2 separate regions of the Homo sapiens genome follow, and region 1 is linked to region 2. The links are contacts of gene promoters, found by promoter capture Hi-C in blood cells and fetal thymus (Javierre and others, 2016). All regions are on one chromosome and are shown on one strand. The core of a region is centred on a gene start or on the middle of the fragment in contact, and the rest is flanking DNA. Distances in the headings are between cores, read along the strand shown. Region 1 has its middle 25 kb from the start of UBR2. Region 2 holds the start of FRS3 (fibroblast growth factor receptor substrate 3).

Region 1 (6,827 bases), core at 2,521-5,020, 760 kb before region 2:
ATAGCTTCATAAGGAAGGGTGCATGGGGGGTAAATTTTCTCACATCTAAAATATTTTTATTTTGCTCTCATACTTGAAAAATGGCTGGACATGGTTTCTCTAGATTGAAAATCATTTTACTCTAGAATTTTGAAGGCATTGCTTTTTTGCTTTCCAGCTTCCTGTTGAGAAGTCAGAAGCCATTTTTGTCCCTGATCTTTTATATGGGTCCTTTGGCTTTCTCTCCAGAAATGTGGAAGATATTTTTCTTCGTCCCCATTGTGAAATCTGCATGATGTACCTTAGTATAGGTCTATTTTAATTCTTTGTGCTGGACACTTTTAATTTGGAAACTCATACTATACATTTCTGGGCAATTCCCTTGAACTATTTCTTTAACGGTTTCCTTTCTTTCATGTTCACTGTTTATTCTTTCTGGGACTCCTACTATTTGGGTCATGTTCCACCTGAACTAGCCTTCTAATTTTCTTATCTTTTCATTCCTATTTTCTACCTCTTTGTGTTTGAACTCTACATACTTAGAGATTTCCTCAACATCATCTTCCAAACTTTCTGTATATTAAAAATAATCTCTGCTATCATGTCATTAATTTGCAACGGCCCTCTCTCATTCTTTTCCCTGTGAATATTTTTTTCTTTGTAGCACTCTATACTTAGTTTATGGATATGATATTACAATTGCTTTTAACTTTTCTAAGGATATTGTGATAGTTAATTTGATGTGTCAACTTGACTGGGCCCATAGGGTACCCAGATATTTGGTTAAACATTATTCTGGGTTATCTGCAGGCAGGGTGACAAGGGGGTTTCTGGATGAGATTAACATTTGAATCAGTAGACTGAGTAAAACAAATTGCCTTCACCAACGTGAGCAAGCCTGATTCAATCTGTGGTATTCAATTTGAATAGAACAAAAAGGCTGAGCAAGAGGGAATTTGCTTTCTCTACCTTATGGTGTTTGACCTGGGACATTGGGCTTCTGTCTTTGGACATGGACTGGAACTTACATCATCAGCCTACTGGTTCTCAGGCTTTTAGACTGCAGATTTGTGGACTTCTTAGCCTCCATATTCGTGTGAGCCAATTCCTTATAATAATCTCCCCTTTATATATCTACATCTATTATTTATTTATTTATTTATTGCTACTAGCAGGATCAACCAGATAAATATCTATCTGTCTATCTATCTATCCATCCATCCATCCATTTACCTTATTGTTCCTGTTTCTCTGGAGAATCCTAATATTCATATTAATGATAAGATTTGTTTTGTTTTAGTTTTCTTCTCCTTGTGTAATTGCATAATTCATTTTCTCCAAGTTTCTTTTTTCTATTTGTACATTTTAGTTTCTAGTGATCCATGTTAGAAGTTTTCCTCAGATGCCTCAGGTGATCCTTGGTAGTTTGCTCCTATTTAAGCTGATTGGAAACTTTGACAATGCAAGGAAGGATTTATAGGGTGTTCTGGCTGGATGGTTTCATTGGAGGAATGCTTGAGGTCTATACGTTTATGTCTTTACTTGTCAGCTGATCAGATTCCCCAGATGTGTCCTTTCCCATCTCTGTCTGGAAGGGTGCAAGCCAGGCTGCCAATGTTATAGGAGCAGAGGCGGAAGAAGGCAAGAGTTTCTGCCTCTAGTGCTTACACCTAATCCTGTTTTCTCTCCCTTTCTTTCTTTCTTTCTTTCTTTCTTTCTTTCTTTCTTTCTTTCTTTCTTTCTTTCTTTCTTTCTTTCTTCTTTCTTTCCTTCTTTCTTTCTCTTTCTTTCCTTCCTTCCTTCCTTTCTTTCTTTCTTTCTTTCCTTCCTTCCTTCCTTCCTTCCTTCCTTCCTTCCTTCCTTCCTTTCTCTCTCTTTCTCTCTTTCTCCTTCCTTCCTTCCTTCCCTCCTTCCTTTTTTGAAATGGAGTCTCGCTTTATCGCCCAGGCTGGAGTGCAGTGGTGCGATCTCAGCTCACTGCAACCTCTGCCTCCCGGGTTCAAGTGATTCTCCTGCCTCAGCCTCCTAAGTAGCTGGGATTATAGGTGTGCACCACCACGCCCGGCTAGTTTTTTGTATTTTTAGTAGACATGGAGTTTCACCATGTTGGTCAGGCTGGTCTTGAACTCCTGACCTTGTGATCTGCCTGCCCTGGCCTCCCAAAGTGCTGGGATTACAGGCATGAGCCACTGCACCCGGCATCCTGTTTTCTGTGTAGTGTCAAGTGTGCCTAGTGTCCTCCAGACCAGACATCTACCTCACCCTCACCCCCAGTTTACCCTTTTTAGGCAATAAACCACCAATCTGTTGCTGTGGGGAGACAGGGAGTTGGGGGGGCATCTAAGGCTCTAATTGCTTTTATTTATTTATTTATTAACTAGAGAGAGAGAGTTGTGCTCTATCGCCCAGGCTGGAGTGCAGTGTCACAATCATAACCCACTGTAACCTTGAACTCCTGGGCTCAAGCAATTCTTCTACCTCCACCTCCTGAGTAGCTAGGACTACAGGTGTGCGCTATTTTTATTTATTTATTTATTTTTGGTAGAGACAAGTTCCCACTATGTTGCCCAGGCTGGTCTTGAATTACTGGCCTCAAGTGATCCTTCCACCTCAGCCTCCCAGAGTGCTGCGATTACAGGTGTGAGCCACTATGCCAGGCCTCTAATTGCTTCTTAAGTGGTATTTCCATCAGTTCTCTGTTTTATCTCTCTTTCATTTCCAAAGATAAATGGTTCCATCCATTCCTGAGCCTTTTGGGAGATTCTGTCGTGTAAATTGATTTGATTTCTATCTTTCTCCACTGCCACCTTAGGATTCTGTTTTCTTAGGTCTGAGTCATTTACTTATAGCATAGCTATTCATTTGTATATTTATTTTGCAATTAGATACTGAAGTGCATTTGCTTACTCTTAAGTTTTCAAAGTACACAGTACTATAACAACTGCAAATAATGAAAATTTTCCTTCCCTTACTAACTTTTATACCTTAATATTTATTTTAATATTTATTTTCCTTCTAAAATACTATTGGCTTATACCTTCACTACAATGTGAAATAGTAGTAGTGATACGGGCATCCTTGTCTTTTTCCTGGATTTGCTGGGATTCTTTTAGTATTTCACCATTAAGCATGCTGCTGGTTTGGATCTGATTGCATACATTTATTTATTGTGTTAAGGAAATATCTCTCTTTTTTATTAAAAGGTTTGTGTCAGAAATGAATGTATAATTTTTCCAAATACCTTTTGGTCCCCTACAGATTTTTTTTTTTTTTGAGATGGAGTCTTGATCTGTTGTCCAGGCTGGAGTGCAGTGGCACGATCTCGGCTCACTGCAACCTCTACCTCCCAGGTTCAAACAATTCTCCTGCCTCAGCCTCCCGAGTAGCTGGGGTTACAGGTGCCTGCCACCACGCCCAGCTAATTTTTGTATTTTTAGTAGAGGCGGGGTTTCACCATATTGGCCAGGAGGAACTCCCGACCTCAGGTGGTCCACCCACCTTGGCCTCCCAAAGTGCTGGGATTACAGGTGTGAGCCACTGCGCCTGGCCTCCCCTACAGATTTTTAAAATCCATATTCATGAGAGAAATTTGCCTGCATTTTTTCTATTCAATGCTGTATTTTTTAGGTTTTAGTATCAGTGTCATATTGCTTTTGTAAAAAAATAATCTAAAAGCTTGCTTTCTCTCTTATACTTTGGAACAGTTTAACAGCATTGGAACTATCTGGTGAGTAATTTAAAAAATTAGTGTCCAGTACCTGAACAGACTGACCCTCTACCCTCCTTCAAATCAAATAATAGTTTATAGGGTGATGCCTACTTGTAAGTCAGCTCCGCAAGCTGTGGTCTCAGCAACTACAGAGGTAATATTAAATGAAAGACACAAAATTTACTTTCTCGAAGCTTCAGGCAGCCGGAAAAGGAGGAGAAGGGAAAGGAAAAGGAAGAGGAGGAAGTTAATTGTGTTGTTTGGACAAGAATGTAGTTCAACAGACTGTTTTTCTTCAGCCAACAACAAGACAAGCCTGATAAAAAAAGGACGAAGTAAAAGGAATTTCTGCTACTCCTTTCTCCAAAGCTCTCAGACTTGGCCTCACGATTCTGTAGTCTCCTCAAGAGTCCTGTAGAAGATTTCCCAGAGGAGATAGGTAAGGCTGTCTCTGGGCCACTGGAACAAGGTCTGGGGTTGCTGCTTGCTGACAAACAGCAAAGTGCTGTGTTGGTTTAGTGATTTGCTGATCCCTTTTCTTTGATGAAGATGGTGTTTGATTCATTGCATCAGCTTGATTTGGCTAACTCAAGACCTGGCTTTTCACAGTTTATCTACTACCTGGGGAAACACTGAGGTGGAAGGTTCTAGAAAAAGTTCAGTGTATTATAAATGAGAGACTTCTGATTATGTCTGCAAGTGGAAGTTGCTGCTGCCCAAGGCTTGATTTCACCATCAGACAGTGGCCAAATGGGATGACTCTTACAATTCTCCAAGTGTACAGTGAAATGGGGAGGTTTCGAAGATGCCTTCATATTTTAGATGGGCTTGGAGCTTAGACCACTTCCATATTCCCTTTTAACTGTCATAATTGATGAGGGAGTCAGTATAGCTCAAGTGACCAAGAGCATAGACTCTGGATTAGACAGATCTAGTGTGGATCCCATTTCTGCTCTAATTAGCTCCATCAAATTAATGAACCTCCCTGAGCCTCAGCTTATCTGGAAAATGAGGACAGTCATCGAACTTACCTCACTCAGAAGGCTGATGTGAAGATGAAGTGAGATATTGGGTAAAAGGCTCCTGACAGGATGTCAGGCCCATAAGTGAGGACCTATAAGTGATTGTTATTGTTGGTGTTACTATTATTCTATATGTCTTCTGGGACTGATGCTTCTGTCACTAAATAAGTGAATAAAGCTCCTGCTCATGGAGAGAGGCTGTTAAGGGTCAGGCCTGTCTGGGAGTTCGATAGCAGCTGGGGACTTGCCTAAACCGATCCACCCCATGGTTAGCAGGAAGATGCTGATCCCTTAGTCTCCTGTTCTCACTTCCACATCTTTTGTCTTAGGGGAAGTGGTAGGAACTTCTTGGATGTGCAAGCTCTGTCCTCTGAAAGTAGACCAGGGTCTTTATTCTGGTTGTGAGTGGAGAGTGAACTCCAAGTCAGAAAATCTTGTTACTTCTGATTAGTCATCAACAGAGCAAGGCCCCCTCGGGGGACTCACCTGCTCCCTGCACCATCGAACGTGCTCTGAGTATCACACCACCTCTCAACATCTTCTCCTGGACAACCCTGTGCTGCTCAGCTGCTCCTGCCCTCTGACACTAGCCTCCAGTTGGGTTCTCTCTCTGACTGGAATAGCCTGGACTGGTTGTGGATAAAGAAGTTTGCCCCCTCCTTCTCCCTCATTTTGCCCTCTTTGCAATGTCTTTCCTCTCTCTTCCTACCCCAGGGACCCCCTAGTCTTCACTTCCTTCAGTTACCCTGTGTTTTCCCATCCTCTTCCACACTTCTTCCCATTGCAATCACATTTTAAATCCTTTATTCAAAAGTTTAATAAATGAATCTAATTACTTAAAGTATGTGCTAAGCTCTCTTGCTTGTAGTAAATGGCTTTCTTTGGTTTATCTCAAATAATTCTCTTCCTCCAGTGGGAGGGTAGGTTACATAATTATTGTGAAGAACCCACATGGTAATTGGGGGAATCAGGGCACTGCCGGCACCAGAGTGGCTGCCCAGCTGGGCCTCATTGCAGCTACAGCATGGCTGGGGAACCAGAAGTGGGGCCCAGGATACAGAGCTCTGGGGACAGTAACGTGTCCCCCTCTCAGCAGGAGATTGTCTACCTTTTGACATGACTGTGACACAGCCTCCTTCTGCCTCTGATTCTCACACTTTTGCCACTACCAGCTCACCTCTAACCCTTCTTTTCTTTGCCTCATGGCTTCTGTTCTCTACAAGCTTCTACTTATCAAGAGTTCTGGTTCTCAATGGCTTCTATGACCTCATGGCACTGCCTCTTCTTTGGTGGACAGGAGTTTTTACAGTGGAGCCCCTCACGGGCTGCTGCTGGCTGGGCCACTCATTGGCTGACCCTGCATTGGTTTTCCACCCCTGATCCATTCGCCAGTGGACACAGAAGACCCATGGCTCTGGGCTGGGTGTGGTGGCTCACACCTGTAATCCCAGCACTTTGGGAGGCCAAGGTGGGCAGATCACCTGAGGTCGGGAGTTCAAGACCAGCCTGGCCAACATGGTGAAACCCTGTCTCTACTAAAAATAAGAAAAATTTGCCAGGCCTGGTGGCTTGTGCTCCCAGTTACTGTAGTCCCAGCTACTTGGGAGGCTGAGGCAGAAGAATCGCATGAACCCAGGAGGCGGAGGTTGCAGTGAGCCAAGATTGCACCACTGCATTCCAACCTGGGCGACAAGAGTGAAACACTGTTTCAAAAAAAAAAAGAAAGAAAGAAAGAAGAAGACACGTGGCTCTGAACTTGCTCCTCAGCACAGGGACTGTTTGTGTACCCAGCACTCTGAGCTTGGCTTTATCCAGGAAACACCATGATCTTCCTATAAGAATTTCAGTGATTCCCTATCTAGATGATTGGCAGAACCTCATGGGTAAATTTTTAAAAATACAGATTTCTAGGAGACACTTATCTGTAAAATGATTACAGTGATAACACCTACCTCACAGGATTGGTGTGGCTGATTTTTTTTTCTCTTTTTTTTTTCCAAAAAAATAATTCTTTTTGCTATGTTTGTAATGCCAAATGTTTGGAAATCTAAGTTCCCCCAAATGGGAACTTAATAGATCAGTGGTTCTCAAGGTCTGAGAAGAGGAAAGAAGGATAG
Region 2 (6,743 bases), core at 23-2,522:
AGGGACAGAGCTGAACCCCTTGTCTTGCCTCCGTGCAGAGCCTCCGTGCAAGAGGGCTCAGGAGCTGGACATCCCCAACACCCGCTGCCCTGAAGGGCAGAGCCCGAGAGGACTTAGGGCTTGGGGAGGTGGAGGGATGGGAAGATTTCTGGGGACAGTGGGAGGGAGAAGGAAGGGGAGTGCCCAGTCCCGCCAACTGCCCTCTCGATAGATCCCCAGAGTTTTTCTGGAACTTGGCGGGCCCGCCTCCGGGGCTGGGACGCGGTGTTTCCCGAGTCCGCTGGGGTTCCCGGTCTGGCTGCTGGGATTTTAGGGGAGGGGACCAGGACTCCGCTGGGGTCTCACCCTCGCTGTGCGTCGCTGTCCGGGCAGTTCTGGACCGACTCTGCCGTCAGGCCCCTCACCCGGTCCCCACCCCAAGGCTTCAGCGCCCGCCCCCGTCCGCCCCCGCCCGCCCTAATAGCGCGGCCCTTCCTCTCCCACGCCCCAGCGGCCCCCGCCCGCCCCTCCCCGGCTGGTGGAGAGGGGCGGCTCAGGGAGGGGCCTGGAGCTGCAGATTGGGGGGAGGAAAAAAAAAAGGAAAACAAAACCACATTTATGGGATCTCAGGGTGGAAATGTGCGGGCTCCATGGCCTCTGCCATGCAGGTGCAAGGGCTCTCTGGCTCGGACTGCGCCCGGCAGGCATCCAGCAGACGCCGGGAGCCGCGTTTACGCTGGGTTTTCAACCATTCGCTGAATGGAAACGCCTCGCCGGGCCCGCAGCCCTGTCTCTCCGCAGTTCCCAGGTCTCCCCAAACTCTCCCTGTGGTCTCCCAGCCCCGCTCCTCCGCGTGTTTCCCTTCAGTTCTCTCCCCCTTGTCCCCAGTGGTCCCCCTGGCCCCTTCCCCTCCCCTCAACCCTCTTCCAGGTTCCATCGTCTTGCCCTTCTCCTTTCAGGTCCCTTCAGACCCTCTCCCCTTCCCTTCGTTTCTCGCCCAACCCTCCGTCCCCTTTCCGCTCCCCGGACCACCCCCAACTTTGGTGTCCTCAGCCCCGCCTCCGCGCCCCGCCTCCGCCGCAGGCTCCGCCCTGTCCCCTCCGGGCTTGCTCAGCCCCTGGCCAGGAGCGCCCTCTGGCGTCTGCGCATGCTCACTGCTCCCGACTGCAAAGTCCTCCAAAGGGACCTTCTAGGCTGCGTGCCGGTCGCCCCCGCTCGGGTCCGCCAGCCCGCAGCGTCTCGTTGGTGCTGCCGGTGACCTCCGACCCCGCGGCCGCGGGGCGGGGCGGGGCGGGGAGGCCTTAGCTCCGGGCGGGCGGCGGCTGCTGCAGCGGGACCCGGGAGCGGGGCCCGGCGCCGCCCGGGCCGCGGGGCGATGTGAGTCGGGGCGCGGCGGGGCGGGGACGAGGCGGCTTCACCGAGGCCGCGCCGCGCCGCGCCGCGCCGCGCCGCAGTCTCCACTCCCTCCCTAGGAAGCCCCGGGCGGGCGGGCAGGCGGCGGAGCACCGGGGCTGGGGGCGGGGATCCGGGGACAGCGCGCACCCAGACCTCCTCATTCCTTACGGGCATGTAGAAATTCCCCTTGACAGTCCTGTAGCCTGTCCTGCAGCCTCTGGCTCCCCCAACCCACCTCTACCCTCTCCGCCCTGGACACATCATCGCATCTCCTGGAGCCCTCAGAACCCCCTCATTCACTCAACAAATCTCCTGCTATGCCCACGGACCCACCATTTCTCTTGGATGCCCCCAAATGCTTCCACTGCCCGGAAATTCCTAGGATCCCTCATATCCCCATTCTCCTTGCACTATCCAAAATGCCCACATCCAAAATTCTTGCTCATGTTTCCCCAAACGTCCTCATACGTTTTCAGCCCCCACACCCCCCTCTCACTCCTGCCCCTGATCCATACCTATCCCAGACCAGAGGCCTCTCCCCATTTCCACTCAATGCAGTCCCTCCTCAGTGGGCTATCTGATACATCCTGATATCTTAAGGAGAAGAGATGGTGATAGGGAAATTCAGCCCCTCCCCCATCTTGCACCCTAGAGTTCTTCGTTTCAGTGCCCGCGCCGTGCCCCCGTCGGTGGCTCAAGCCCCAGTATTTTCCCAGCAACCTATCTTTAGTCTGTGCACACCTCCCTGAGCCTGCTTCTTCCTTCCAGAAAATAAGCCAGACCAAGGGGATGGGGTCCTTTTACCTGGAAGTTGTCCAAGGATGCAGGGTGCAAGGGGCCCTGGGAAGTGTTTCTCCAGAGCAGGAATGTGGGATGTCCAGGGTCTGCAGAGTCCTGGCTTGTTGACTTGTCTACCTTGGGCTCAGATATCCTGAAATTTTGGCTTACTGTTAACATTTATGTTAAAATTAGGCCTTTCAGAGCTTGGGGAGCAGAAAATCTATCAAGCTTCCAAATGCGAAATTGAAGCAGCCTGTCTTGGAAGATGAACATGTCAATTTTAGTGAAGTTTGTCTTACGTTTTTACCTCTGCAAGTTATTTAAGCTAGAAGCTCCCCAGTTTATAGATGGTTCCCCCAAAAACTAAGGCCTTAGGTGGGAGTTGGGGGGGGCGTTGACTTAAGTCTCCCAGATACTTAGTAGCAACAAAACTGACCGATATATTGGTTTCCTGAGTCTTAAACCAGTGCTGTCTCTACTATATCACAGTGTCCTTTTGAGAAAGCTCTTTGTAGAGTTAAAGTTCTCTGCAAAGGTAAGGTGATGGTTTTGGTGTTTGTTGTAACAGGACTCAGAGGGAGATCTAAAGTGACTTAAAAGGTCTTTGGTCGTCTTAGACTTCAAACTTATTGATGTTCTTGGTGTCTGTCCCTCTCAGGGCCCGTGGGGCTTGGGATTTGTGCTCCCTTTGCCCTTGATTTTACTTTCTTCATTGGTGTTTTTGTCCCATTAGGGCTGGAACAGATACCCAGGTGGGATGGACTGTTAGGTCAGTTTTCATTAACAGTTGGGGGTGAAGATAGAAGGTTTTGTTAATCAGTGTCTCTGTTTCCTATGCTAGGTGAGCCCCAGGTGTATCCCAGAGGGATCCGGGTGACTTCTCTGCAGACTGTTTGCCATGACAGCCCACCAAGGACGGGGGGAATAAAGTGGGAACCCTTCCCCATGCCCCTCCCACGGTCAGCTCCCCGATGGCCTGGGTGAGGTAAGAGCTGTGTATAGGGGTCAGTTTTATGGCGTTTCCCAAGTTGGGAGGAACAGAGGGTACAGGTCACCTGGTTGTTCAAAGCTTTACCATTCAGCAGGAGTTCTAGAAGGATAGCCAATCCTACAGACTTATTTCTTGTGACAAGTTGCAACCCCTTAAAACTTCTGCTTGGTATTGGTCCATGCATTTCTTGTTCCCTTAGGTCATTCAAGCTTGGGTGGTGTCCTCTTCATTCTAGGCACAGTCCTGACTATTGTGACATATAATCCAAGTACTGGAATCCTGGAGGGGAAGAGCCAAATAGTAAGGCCTCTGGTCTCCCCTTCAGAAAAAGGGAAGGAAACCCAGCATTTTTTTTAAATGAAGAAATATCCACTTGAGGTTATTAAAACTGCACTGTTTTAAATGTTCAGTCTTCTGAATATATCTTTATGATCACAATGTAACAACTCATTTGAAGAGGACATCAGAAAGATAAATTTGCACTGGATGTTGGGATGGTAGTAAGGGAGAAGAGAGAACTTGGATGAAGTGGAATGGATGAGGTAAAAAGGGAGGAAAAAAGAGACAGGCACAGGCCAAAGTGTCTGAGACCCCCAAGTGACAATTTCTTTGCTGAATCCAAATAAGGGGCTCGGGCTGGCACCCACCTCCATCTGCTGCAGATCACTTCTCCTGGACCCCTACTTTTCTTCCTGCCTGTGTCCCTGCCTTCCTTGTCATTACATGGGTCAGAATCCTACATACTTCTCAAGGTCCAGATCAAATGTTACCTCTGAGAAGCTCTCTCCAGCCCCCCATCGGCATTCATCCTTAACACATTGTAACTTGAATTAACGTTTATCCAATGTGTGTCTGGCCCTGGATTGAGAATGTGAAGTCTTTGAGGGGGGGTCTGTATCACACAGTCTCTTGGACAGAGTAGGTGATCACAATGACGTGCTTCTGCCCAAGTTCCCCAGAGCAGGGTTTTTTGAAGCTGAAGTTGGTGACCTGCATATCCTGTATGTTTTTCCTAGGGCAGGCTGGCTGCTCTGACACCATGGGGAGCTGCTGCAGCTGCCTGAACAGAGACAGCGTTCCAGACAACCACCCCACCAAGTTCAAGGTACCCAGAGCCCTCTCCTCTCCTGTGTTCCCAACATGGCCTCTTGGGCTCAGACACAATTTAATGGAGTTGCCTCAGCTTCTCTAACAGCAAATCAAATGCCAGGCTGAGGTTGTGGGCTTATGGAGACTTCTTGAGCTCACACCCTCTCAAGTAGCCTGAGGAAAAGAGGCCCAGACCACTGCTGTTTTCATGGCTCTTGATACTACCAAGAATGAAGAAATGCCATAATGGTGCTTTTGGAACTGTTGTCAGTGTATTTTTATAACTTTATATATCCCCCCCCCTTTTTTTTTTAGAGAAAACAAAATTCTGTATTTGTGAGTTAATATACGTAAAGTATTTAAAATAGTGCTTAGTGGCCAGGCACGGTGGCTCACACCTGTAATACCAGCACTTTTGGAGGCCAAGGCAGGCGGATCACCTGAGGTCAGGAGCTCGAGACCAGCCTGGCCAACATGGCGAAACCCCGTCTCTACTAAAAATACAAAAATTAGCCAGGTATGGTGGCACACGCCTGTAATCCCAGCTACTTGGGAGGCTGAGGCAGGAGAATCACTTGAACCCGGGAGGTGGAGGTTGCAGTGGGCTGAGATTGCACCGCTGCACTTCAGCCTGGGTGACAGAGCGAGATGCCATCTCAAAAAATAAATAAATAAATAAATTAAATAGTGCTTAGCACACAGTAAGCACAACATCAGTGTTTGCTGTTTGCTGTGGGAAGCTGAGGGCAGACCCAAGTCGACCTGTGCTCTCCCCTGCCCACCTCTCTGTAGAGGGAGCCTCCTCCTTCCTCATTCTGGGGCATGTTGAAGCACATGTTTCTCCTGCCCACCAGAAGAGGGAGCCCTCAGTAAGGGCACACAGTTGGGGAGGTGGTAGAGGAGATGTGCATTGGTTCTGCCTTGGGCTTGACTTTCCTAGGTCAGGGTGTCCCAGTCTCAAGATTTTGAATTTACAATTGAACCCCTTCCCCATTAACATCTGGCCCTTGGATACTAAGGCATGGGCTGTCTAGGGTCGTCTAACATTTGTTATCTAACAAACCGACCTTGGAAGTCAGCTACCTACCTCTTCCCTCACTGTCCATATGACAAAACTCAGCACTAGAGAAGTAGGATTTGCCCAGAGAACTGCCGTGGGTCCATGGCACTGCTTCATGTAGTTATGTGGCATTCAGTAGAGTCTGTGATAGTCGGATGTGACCTTTGGTTCCCCACCTCTTGTCCTGCATCAGATTGTCTCCCAGTGGCTCAGGGACCCATGCAAACACTTGTTGGACTCACTCATTGACCCTTCTGTCTTCTCCCCTCCAGGTGACAAATGTGGATGATGAGGGGGTGGAGCTGGGCTCTGGGGTGATGGAGCTGACGCAGAGTGAGCTGGTGCTGCACCTGCATCGGCGTGAGGCCGTCCGCTGGCCTTATCTCTGCTTGCGGCGCTATGGCTACGACTCCAACCTCTTCTCCTTTGAGAGTGGCCGCCGATGTCAGACAGGCCAGGGTGAGTACCAGGCCCTGCTCCACCCTGGGATAGGGGCTTATGCAGTACTCCAGGGTTCCTAATGTATAGGTTAGCCCTCAAGAGGTTAGTGTTATCCCCATCACCTGTGGGCAGTAGAGTGTGATGTATTCTCCCTGCAGTCAGAGGTCAGGGGTGGTAGGTTATTCCATAAGGTCAAGGCTAGAGCCAGCCACAGCTCTCTGAAGAAGTGGCATGGTCTGAGTTTATCTCTTAGGATCCAGACTTAAGCTGTGCAAAAGGAATCCTGCATGGGATTGTGTTCAGTGCAGTTTGGGATTATGGCTGTGCAGAGGTGGAATGAACAAGCTTCTCTGATGAGGCTGCCAACAAAATAGTGAGCCTCCGAGGTCATGTTTGCTGGAGGAGACTTCCCTCCATGCATCTTACCTTTGGAATTCATGAGGCAGAGGCAGGGGCGCTGGGTGAGCAGGCAGAGCAGGCAGAGGCATCCTTGCTCCTAGTGATGTTTGATCTACACTTGGGTTCCCAGAGGGGCTACCCCTGGCCCCAACACGGGGTTCTCTACAACTCCAGTCTTTCCCAGTCTTTTCTACTTCTCGTCATATTTTGCCAGAGTAGTTATTTTTCTTCCCTGTTTCCTCCCCATCCTATTTGTGCAAACCATAGTTGTCCCATTCCCCAGGCTAATTGTGTCTTAGTTGTGGGTATATGCACAGGCACACCCCACGTAGCCTCCCCTAGGTCCCAGGTCCCCCTGTTACAGAGGAGTCCATGCTGGCCCAGTACCCCAAGGGCATCTTTGAGTCCCCTGATTGACAGACACTCAGCCCAGTCCTGCTGTTCCTGGGACCTTGAGTTGCAGTGTTGCAATTTGAAGGGCTGTGAGGCTGGCTGCATTGAGGAGCCTTGTGATTGCCTTGCCATGTTTGCCTTTAGCTAGTCTGCCCATGATTTCTTCCTTCCCGTGCCAGAGTTTAATCTATGAGGTTAGGGACCTATATACAGTAG

What was found. Contacts are between HindIII fragments. The CHiCAGO score rates a contact against its expected background, and 5 or more counts as called.
Region 1: a contact is called between a fragment that was not itself captured here and the fragment with the promoter of FRS3 in region 2, in 3 of 17 cell types (total CD8 T cells, total CD4 T cells and activated CD4 T cells). The highest score is 8.3, in total CD8 T cells.

The regions. Positions count from the first base shown.
Region 1 is chr6:42,535,348-42,542,174 of GRCh38, reverse strand. No RefSeq gene overlaps it. Among named protein-coding and RNA genes, the nearest start is that of UBR2, 25 kb to the left of the region's middle. The HindIII fragment of the contact is 228 bases long and covers 3,657-3,884 here.
Region 2 is chr6:41,774,429-41,781,171 of GRCh38, reverse strand. FRS3 (fibroblast growth factor receptor substrate 3) reads left to right here and starts at 1,272. Exons shown (of 7, transcript NM_006653.5): 1 at 1,272-1,356; 2 at 2,996-3,139; 3 at 4,162-4,250; 4 at 5,567-5,753. The coding sequence starts at 4,185. It overlaps PRICKLE4 (prickle planar cell polarity protein 4), which reads right to left and starts at 390. Exons shown (of 8, transcript NM_013397.6): 1 at 346-390. RefSeq lists silencers at 607-676, 957-1,366, 1,397-1,546. The HindIII fragment of the contact is 6,259 bases long and covers 1-2,384 here.